Linked DNA regions of Homo sapiens: all the other regions are linked to region 2. Evidence: promoter capture Hi-C in 16 types of primary human blood cells and fetal thymus (Javierre and others, 2016). All regions are on one chromosome and are shown on one strand. The core of a region is centred on a gene start or on the middle of the fragment in contact, and the rest is flanking DNA. Distances in the headings are between cores, read along the strand shown. Region 1 holds the start of KLHL25 (kelch like family member 25). Region 2 holds the start of TICRR (TOPBP1 interacting checkpoint and replication regulator). Region 3 holds the start of MIR3175 (microRNA 3175).

The links. Contacts are between HindIII fragments. The CHiCAGO score rates a contact against its expected background, and 5 or more counts as called.
Region 1: a fragment that was not itself captured here is called in contact with the fragment with the promoter of TICRR in region 2 in 1 of 17 cell types (fetal thymus); the score reaches 5.3 in fetal thymus.
Region 3: a contact is called between a fragment that was not itself captured here and the fragment with the promoter of TICRR in region 2, in 1 of 17 cell types (fetal thymus). The highest score is 7.1, in fetal thymus.

Annotation. Positions count from the first base shown.
Region 1 is chr15:85,791,781-85,794,931 of GRCh38, reverse strand. KLHL25 (kelch like family member 25) reads left to right here and starts at 7. Exons shown (of 3, transcript NM_022480.4): 1 at 7-166. RefSeq lists a silencer at 37-336. The HindIII fragment of the contact is 922 bases long and covers 912-1,833 here.
Region 2 is chr15:89,573,695-89,576,971 of GRCh38, reverse strand. It overlaps TICRR (TOPBP1 interacting checkpoint and replication regulator), which reads right to left and starts at 1,503. Exons shown (of 22, transcript NM_152259.4): 1 at 732-1,503. The coding sequence starts at 1,385. RefSeq lists an enhancer at 576-1,104 and a silencer at 1,226-1,515. The HindIII fragment of the contact is 7,754 bases long and covers 1-1,695 here.
Region 3 is chr15:92,903,371-92,906,848 of GRCh38, reverse strand. The region is part of intron 2 of CHD2 (chromodomain helicase DNA binding protein 2); the gene reads right to left. It overlaps MIR3175 (microRNA 3175), which reads right to left and starts at 2,450; the gene lies at 2,374-2,450. RefSeq lists enhancers at 2,157-2,396, 2,677-2,856, 1,718-2,917 and a silencer at 2,557-2,606. The HindIII fragment of the contact is 5,562 bases long and covers 1-3,478 here.

The sequences.
Region 1 (3,151 bases), core at 123-2,622, 3.8 Mb after region 2:
GGCCGGAGAAACTAGTTTGTTGGCGGCGCCTAGGCTGTATCGCAGCGAGAGCGTTTTTGCCTGTGGAGAGCCGGCCGACGGGAGCCGCGGCGGAGCCTGTTGAGCTCGCGCGGGCTGCCGGGAGTGGTCTCTGAGGCGGCGGCGGCGGCGGGGATCGTCTCCGGCAGTGAGTATCCAGGCCGGGCGGGGACGCCGTGCTCTGGCCGCAGCACCCGCGCCCCCGCTCCCTGCGCTGGGGACTCACCACCCCGGGCCGGGCCGGGACCAAGCGCTCGGAGCCCCCGCGGGACTACGTGTCCCGGGAGGGGGCCCCGCGGCTGGGGCCGGGGCCCTGGGACAATGGTGGGGAGCGGCGGCCGGCCGGCACCCCGCGGCTCCGCGAGGGAATTCGCCGAGAGCTCTGCGCGAGGGAATGAATTGTTTGGCAAATGGATGTTGCGCGCGGGAGCCGCTACTCTTTCCCCAGGGAGTGGTTGATTCATTGAGTCCGCAGACTCTTTTTTTTAAAAAATTACTATTGATCCTGGAAAGAGAGACTGCTTGTCTTTGAGGACGCGAGCGGCGATGCCCCGCGCCTTGGACGCCCAGGCCGGATGGCTGCCTGCCTGGCGCAGAGCGAGGGCCCGGGGTTCACAAGGGGAGGGTTTGCGCGGGCCTGGCCGCGGAGCCCCGAGCCGTTCACGTTCCGCCTGCCAGGGTCCCTCGTTTCGGTTTGCAGAACTGTCCAGCGGCAGAGAAAGGTCGCACTCAAAGGCACACCCACCTGTCCACCTGGGTGGCGGCCAGACTGGCAGGTCCAGAGCAAGCCCTCTAGCCTGACTCTAATTACCACACTTGCCCTGGCTCCGAGACACACCGCGCGATGTTACGCCCCCACTCCCCCTGTCTCTTTCGTAGTTGCTTTAGAAGCTTTTCTCTTGGGGGATTGTGCCCGGGAGATACCAGATACTTTTTTTGTGTTGCTGCTCTAAGCCCCCAAAGTGCATTCCCATTGTCTTTGAACAAAGAAACATCTCTCTAGAGGCCTGACCCAACGAACTGTGGGTGAGGGGGCGGACCCAGGCCCCTGCAGATTTAATCTGGACGCTCTTGGGTCCTGCTGGATCCCGGTGAATTTGACCTTGGGGAAGGCGGGCTGGACTTTGACTCTCCTCGGTAGTCAGGGCAGAGAATGCCAGGTGTCTGGACCATTTGGTTCCACTCTATCGGCCCAATAGAGAGAGGAAGGGAAGGAAGTTAGCAGTAGCACCAGGAGAGGAGGCAGGATTCCACGGTCTGTATCCTGGACCAGATTCCAGTGACCGTTATGGGGCCAAGCCCTCTGGGACCCTGGGTCCCAGTCTCCCCATTCATAGGAGGAACTGATGCTCAGTGTGCTGATCTGAGCTGTGAGGATTCCTGGCATGTTGGTGAAGGCTTGCGTGGGGGTCTGGGGAAGAGTAGGACACAAAGTCTACCCCACCTCAGGGTCCATTTGGTGTCCCAAGACCGGAGGCTCTTGGGTCCACAAGCTGTGCCTGTGAAGGTTGACGTAGTCAGTCTTTTTCCGGCCTGGCAGCTATTTCAGTTTTGAGTCATTTGTCAGGCAGTGACTCCAGGGTGGTTGATAAAAGGGAGGTAGAAATGGAAGACACCTTCATCCTGGGGTCTTGGGCTGCAGTTGGATTTATGTATGTGGTGCGGAGAGAAGAGCTATAGGCAAATTGCATGCTCCACATCGGAAGCAGGTTCTGCAGCCCGATGCCCCTTAATAGCGTTTTAAATCTGCGGGCACCCCGTGTGGGCAGAAGAGAGCAGGAAGAAAAGAGAACAATTACCCAGTGAAAGCAAGCTTGGTTCGTCCCGTCTATCACTTGGGCGGGGGCGGGGGGAAGGGTAGGATGAGTGAGAGTGTTATTTAGTGGGTGGTTTGTGACTGATTGATTGATTGATTCATTGTTTGAACAGACTTGATTGGGCACCTGCTGTGTGCCAGGCCCTGAGTTAGGTGCTGGAGACTCTTCCTTTAGTGAGCACCTAGATGAGGGAGTGCTGGCACATGGATTAGGGGCCCTGACACATCGTAGTGATAGAGGCAGCAAGAGGAGAGAAGGAGACACAGGTGGGCAAGGCTTCCTGGGGAGAGGATGCCTTGACTAAGATGAGAAAGGCATGTCATCGCCCAGATTCGAGGTGTAGGGCAGCCACCTTTGTCCTGTCGCTCACCCACACTTCTCCCAGAGGCCCAATTCATTGCCAGCCTCAAGATAGGCACAGGTTGAGGCCATGGAGAATGCAAGTGGGAGGTGGTAGAAGGTTTGCTCTCGTCCGTAGTGTCTGGCCGCACAGTCAGCAGTCCAGCGCATTTGTAGGAAGCTGGATGGCTTCTGGATGCAGCCTCTCTTCTCTGGGGGTCCTGGGAGAACCTACCCCCTGGTCCCAAAGACCAGCCCATTGTCTGAGCCCCTAGTCCCTCTGTACCACCAGGCAGTGTAGGCATAGCCTGGCCAGTGTGGGCAGAGCTGGCACAAGAAAACAGAGTGGCCAGACACAAATGAATTGGTTGATTGAGATGCTGGTTTTCATCTAATGTGGTAAATTTCATAATTTAATTGCCTCAGCCAGCCAAGGCTGTTGAAGCATTTTCCTCACCAGGAAACACTTAGTTGGAACAAGCTGGGGGTAGAGGAGGGAGGTGCAGGGGAGGAGGGAGGAGGGAGAACTTAAGCATCCACAGCTTTCAGTCACAGCATCCCAACAGGACTTATCAATCAGCAGCTATCCCCAGCTGATGGAAGTCAGCCCAGCCCCTACAGTAGGTTCCAACCCCTTTCCTTGACCACCTCATTGCCATACCAACCTAAAGCTGTCAAAAGCTGACACCTGTCATCTTCAAGGCATAATCATCCCATACTGCCTCCAGGTCCTTCTGGGGCTGTTAGAAACTGGGGAAGGGGTGCTGTGGGATTAGGTGGGGAAGCGAAGGGGTTTGGGGATAGGAAGGGCTCCCTGTTAAGTCCTTTTAACCCAGGAGCAGTGGAAAGAGCATGGGCTTTGGCACCAGACTGGGGTTCAAATGCTGTGGGTCTGTGATCAAGTTCCTTAACCTCATTGAGCTTTGTTAGCTTTTTTCAGGGGTATGGTGAAGGTTAACCACCATACTATGCAGAAT
Region 2 (3,277 bases), core at 254-2,753:
GCAGTGAGCCACTGCATTCCAGCCTGGGCGACATACACTGTCTCAAAAAATAATAATAAATAAATATATATATGTATATAAATAAATGTGTATATATATGTGTGTGTGTGTATATATATATATATATATATATATATATATATATATATACACACACACATACACACACACCCCTGGGTATTGTGTTAAAACCTGCTGCTTGCCTCTGAGGTATTTTTAGACTAGATGGAGGGTGAGAGATGTGCATAATCAAAACATATGGAGAAATGGTTAAGTGCCACACAAAATGTGTATGGCAATTCAGACGCTGGACTGAGCAGTTGTCACTGGGAGAAGAAGCCTTAAAGGGTAAGTGAAGTTAAGACTGGCCTGGAAGAGTGAGAACTGGCATTCCAGGCAGATTGAACAACACACATAACACAAAACAAGCAGTCCAGACCTGTTGATTTTCTGGACTGGACTTCAATATGCTAGAGTAGATGTAGTGTGTAGGAAAATCAAGTCTGGGAAGGCAGGTAGGGCCCAAATTGTGAGGGGTCTTAAACAGTAGGTAGTGAGGAACTACCCATTTTGTTGTGAAAACTGTTCCTATTTATTTGTTTCCTTCCGAAGGGACGCATAGTCATATTAGTCTCATTCGGGGTCTGTGGCTGTTCTAAGGACGCTGCCAAGTTCTGGTTAGCAAGGAAAGCACCGTGCACGCCATCTGAGACGACAGTAACCTTCCTTACCTTAGACCATTCGGTGGTATCCACCCAGTAGAAGGTGATTTTTCGGGCGACCATGACTTCCCGGACTCTCTTGGGCAACAACTTCTCCATCACCTGCTTAGGGGTGGGCGGCAGGCGCTGGGCCTGGGCCTCGCACCCAGACACGAACTGCAGCAGCTCCCTCTGCGAGTGCGGACAGGGGGCCAGGAGGAAGACGGCGTTCACCAAGCCCCCGAGCGCGGCCTCGGCCTCCTTGGCCTCGCTCTCCACGTCCAGCAGTCTCCTCCCGCTGCTCCGCAGGATCGGCTTCGTGGGCGACGTGATCTCGGGCCGGTCCCACTGGTAGTCTAGCAGCGTCTCCATCAGGGCGCCGTGCGTGTGGGTGGCCCTGGGCGCCGGGCCGGGCAGGTGGGCGCGATCCTCGAGCCTGGCCTCCAGCTCCTCCTCAAAGTCCTCCCACGAGCGGGACCCCAGCTCGCGGAAGTCAGACACGCGGGACGGCCGGCTCCGCGCCCCCTGCGAGTCAAAGAACTTGAAGGCCCAGTGGACCCTGGCCAGGCCGAATCGGCAACTCAGATAGGTGAGGAGGCGCAGGGCGGCCCGCCGGACCCGGCTGTGGCGGGCGGCGCCGCCCGCGGTGTCCAGCAGCAGCATTACTTTGTGACAGCATGCCATATCGGCCGTGCCGCCGCCCCGGGGCCCCGGTCCGGGCCCGCGCCACCGTCCCTTAGTCCCTTCCTTCAGGGAAACAGCACCACTCACTGCTTTCCTTTGGGACCCTGGTCGAAAGGCTCCCGCGCTCTCCAGGAACTGCTGCTATTGGGGGAGCTAGTTTCCAAGGTTTGCTCCTATTGGCTGCTTGCCTTACGTAAGTTACGAGAGCAACTTCCATTTTTGGCGGTGATTGGAGGGGCAGTGGAGAAAACTTCAGTCTGATTGGTGGAGGGAGTGACGGTGGGCGGGTCTCTGTGGTCCGAGAGAAGCTTAGCATTCATTGGCCTGGGCCTTCGTTTTAAATTTTAAAGAGGTGGTGCCTCGGGGGCGTGTCGAGAAGTTTCGCCATTGGAAAGAGGCCAGCGTTTGTGCGCAGTCGTGAGTGCGGACTGCGGGGCCACGTTTCCCAAGACCGAGGAAAACTTAGTGCCGGGAGGGAATTTGGGATGGTTTGAATCGAACTTGTTGAAATCCCTGTGGACCGCCTAGGAAGTAGAATCTGACGACTACGGCTTTTTCTGTAATTTAAAAAATTTTATTAAAAATTAAAGGTTCACTCCCTTTGCCCCAGTAACTTCTAGGAGTTTATCTGCAGAAGGTAATCGGAGAGCCAGATAAAAGACGTCTGTACATCTTAGAGTTTATTTAACATCAGAAAAAATGGAAACAGTTTGGGAATGGTTAAATAAGGTATGGTACACGCCCAAGGGGAGCATCGTGCAGCTCCTTTTTTTTTTTTTTTTTTTTTTTTTTTTTTTTTGAAACGGAGTCTCGCTCTGTCTCCTAGGCTGGAGTGCATTGACACGATCTTGGCTCACTGCAACCTCCACCTCCCGGGTTCAAGCGATCCTCCTGCCTCAGCCTCCTGAATAGGACTACAGGCGCACGCCACCACCCCAGACTAATTTTTGTATTTTTAGTAAAGACGGAGTTTCACCATGTTGGCCAGGCTGGTCTCAAACTCCTGACCTTGTGATCCACCCGACTTGGCCTCCCAAAGTGCTGGGATTACAGGCGTGAGCCACCAAGCCCGGCCTAGTGCAGCTTCTTAAAATAGTGTTTTATTATGTAATGTTAGGTTTTAAAAGTGGACTGCAAGCAGCACCTGCAGTGAATTCCCTAAATTTTCTATCTACATGTATATATAGATAGAAATCACATGTAGATTTGCATTACAGATAGAAATTATATATCGCTATATAGATAGAATACATAGAATTATATATAGATAGGCCGGGCACGGTGGCTCACGCCTGTAATCCCAGCACTTTGGGAGGCCGAGGCGGGCGAATCACCAGGTCAGGAGATCGAGACCATCCTGGCTAACACAGTGAAACCCTGTCTCTACTAAAAAAAAAAAAACAAAACAAAAAAAAAAGGAATTATATATAGATAGATAATCATAGATAGAAGTTATATATAGATAGAAATGCATTTATATGCATATTTTTAAACTGTTAATATAATATTGTGTACCGGAAGTTGTCTGTGATGGTCTCTCCATGTGATTTTTTTTGAAACTTTTTTACACTTCCTCTTGCTGGACACCAGTGAACAGGCTGATTTCAGAGATGTGAGATGTGCCTCTAGGATCAGTGGAATATGGTATTTGGAAAGAAGAAGGGGACAAAAAATGAAGGTCGGTTACCTGAATATGTGTTTAGGGAGATTGATCCAATACTCCACACCATTGAATTCTGCTTGCTAAGTAATTCTGTTTCCACCTGGAAACAGAACAACTTCCTTTATATGCTTTGGCTACAACTTCCTTTATGTGCCTTGGCTTCTCCAATCAAAGTCCTCAGCAATTACTGCCTCATGTACAACAATTTTCTCTTTTGGTTGAGTTTTCT
Region 3 (3,478 bases), core at 618-3,117, 3.3 Mb before region 2:
GTGTAACCAAGCCACAAAGTTACTTTCACCTGTACACAAAATACTCTTAGAGGAATTTTTTTTTAAGTTTCTTTGTTCAAGTGACACCATATCAAGAAAGCCAAGTTCTTCAAGGAAGCAAAGTTCTAAGGTTACCAAGAAGCAGCTAAAAACTAAAGGATCTTAAAAAAAAAAAAAAAAAAAAGATGGCTCATAGCAAGAAAAAATTTAATGGCTGACACAGAGCAGTCACTCAATTTTTATACCAGAAACAAACTTAGTGTATCAAATTTTATGGGAGAAATGATAGGAGTTTGGAAATACCAGGTGGTCTCAGGAGGTCTCTCATAACTGTCAGTTGTTTTATTTGGGGGTAAGGGAGAGTAAACTAATGATAAAATCTGTGAGTTTTAGTTAAAATTCAAATAAACTTCCAGATTCACTCCTCAAGCAATAACTTGCTACAACTGTCACAACCAAAAGTCTTTATCAAAAATATTATTTGCCCACCTTCCTCTGCTGACTTAATCTTTACAAAGATACTAACTCCCTAACGGCCAAATACTAGTTGGAAAGTGCATATTTTAAACGGCAAGGATACAGAGAGAGAGAGAGAAAGAGAGAGAAATCGATCAACACTCTTTTCTTGCTGCTTGATGCTATTCCCCACATCAAAGGGAAAAAAAGTAGAAGGCTCAACAAACATACCTAAGAACACTGGTTCTATAAAAAACTTAATTGGCTGCAAGATTGTCAACAGTTAATAGGTAAATTGTTATATCATGGTATGCATTTTAACTCATAATGGTATTTAGGTTAAAATATCTTAAATAACAGAATAGTTCATATCCTCTTCAAAAATAATTAACTGCAATGTTGACTACTTTGACCCCAGTTTTAGGAATTGAAAGGTATTCAGCAAATACTATTAACACAACTAATTAGAATTCAGTCTCTACACAAAAAGGGAGGTGAGATTATTACTTTCGTTCTTGTGGCAGGTATACTTTAAGTTGGAAGCTACAGTTAAACGTTCATCAAGTTCTATAAACACTTAATTCTCTGTTAGCATTTTATACGCAATATACATTTGAGCATATAATTTTAAAATCAGGTACAAATTATTTGATGAACACTTCTCTGTAACAGAAAAAGCAATTTCAGCTAGTTTTCACAAACTATCCAAATAATTCTTCCCAAAGAACCTAGATTATGAGAACCTACAAAACTCACTATCATAGTGAATTCTAACTTTCACAGACTGTATTCAGAAACTTGACATACGCCCAAGCAAATATCACCTGCACTGAAGGGTCAACATCTCCTTTGAAGTAACACACTTTACTAAAATAACTCTAAACTATGGCTAACTACAGGACAGCCTACTCCAACTGCTAAAAAAACTCTAGTATGGCAGGAAAAAAACTTTGTCCACAGTAGATAAATCCACTGAATTTCTTGCTTGCTTAAATTCAGTATGTGTAATTTAATTATTAAGACATCGTTGCTGAACGATGAAGTTTTAACCAGAAATCCTTGTAAAGGTTTCCAAACAAGGCAAATCAGTGAGCATAAACCCAACCGTTTACCGGGACTCAGAATTCCCGAAATGGAGGCCTAGGGAAGATAATTGCGAAGATTTGGCCAAGTGACCCCACTATCAGCCAAGCTGTCAGTCACCCTGCATTAGCAAGTGCTATTAACACTTAAAAGAGTAGTTTTCTGACATTTACTTACATAGTAATGGTTGCCTAACGCTGTATTCTGCCACTTTTTAATGTTATTGAACGTGAAATTTTCTATTTTCTACTAAACTATCCCACTGTGAATCTTAAATATATAGTACTTAGCACATACTGACCTGAGTTTTTCTCCATCAAATGCCAACTGAGAAAATGTACGGTACCAAGTAAAAACGCATGGGGACAAGTTCAAATAATCTTCCCTTTGTTTATGAGCCATGTATTAAACAGCTGTTAACACCCGTCAAGAGGTTTTCACTAAAATAAAAGTATCCGCCTCTGACACTCAAACGTTTTGGTCAATTGTAACAAAATTAAACCCACTCATCTCTTCACACTGAACGGGGGCGGGGAGAAGGGACGCTAAGGTATGAAAAGGGAAAATGTAAAACTGGGCAAATTTTCTATTTTAAGATTTCCAAATAGTGCCTTTAAAATTTATAAATAGTGCCTGCACTTTTTCTCCAAAAGCAGCCGCTTCTCAAAGAGGATAAACCATTCCCGGAAATGGGCAAAAGAACACACTACAGGGTGCGGACCGCTACAGGCAAGGGCGGACAAGACTGCCAGGAGCAAACGCGTCCAGGAAAGAAGCCGCCCACCGGAAAGTCCCAACTAGAGTTCCCTTCCTTTTCCCCTCGGCGTGCGGCTCCCTGGGTAGGGGGAGGAGAAAGCGCCCGACATGCGCACGCGGCCAGACGTCACTGCGTTCTCTCCCCGCCCCCCAGGGGAGCCGTCTGACGTCACGGGGCGGAGGCTGCCGAAGGCGCCGCCGTTGACCCTGCTGTTACCAGGCGCGCGCACAGCCAATCAGCACCCCGCGCCGGCGCCGGCCGGCCTTTGAACTCGGCACGGCAACTTCCTGCTGTTTGGCGAGTACACAGTGCAATGCAGTATGTCTGTCAGCGCTGCGGCACAAAGGAACAGCCATTTTGTGACTGAGCTGGACCTGCATCAAGATGCCAGGGGCTCAAAGAGCTGCTGCGTGCCCTATCGAACTGCCTTTTATGTCGGCACCAGAGTTCCCCAGAAGAGCAGAGAGGGGGAAGGAAATAGGCTTTGGTATTTCAGATTTCTATTAGTTTAGATTCAGTCTTCTCCAAAATCCCGTTTTTTAATGTATTATCAGCGTCATAAAATGGCTGCCAGTTAAACTGCCTGTTCTAGTACACAAGTAACTGCATTATGCCATTTCTAATCATCCCCAGCCTTTTAGAATATCTGGTAAAGCGCCCCTGAAAATTGTAGGATTTACCCGCACCTCAGGTTATAAAAATAAATCTGGCTCAAAGGCAGACGATTTGGAGATAAATTTAATAAACTCGTTCAATTCTTAAGATAAATTGCTAACGTGGTGCCGTGGAGAACACACTGAACTCTTTGTGTGCACACAGTCCCGTTTTCATTCTTTGATGTTACTTAAGTTATCCCCAAGCTGCAAATTATTCAGATAAAAAGTATGGTATACTTCTCGTATGTCCATCATTAGAACTTTGTTTTAAATACTTAGAAATTTTACAAATATCAATCAAATGTTTTTAAAATCGCGTTTTTTAAAGTTTTTAATTTTCAAAAATCGTGATAAAGTATAACAGACTTTAGCATTAACTTCAAATTAAAATACAAACTTATATAACCACTATTAACTACTGCACTATTTCCAAAAACAGGGTATTACCAGATTTACCTAAACTTGCACTCATTCTTTCCAGATACTAAAGTAATTCTCAGACCAAAGTTTACTTGACCTGCAAACT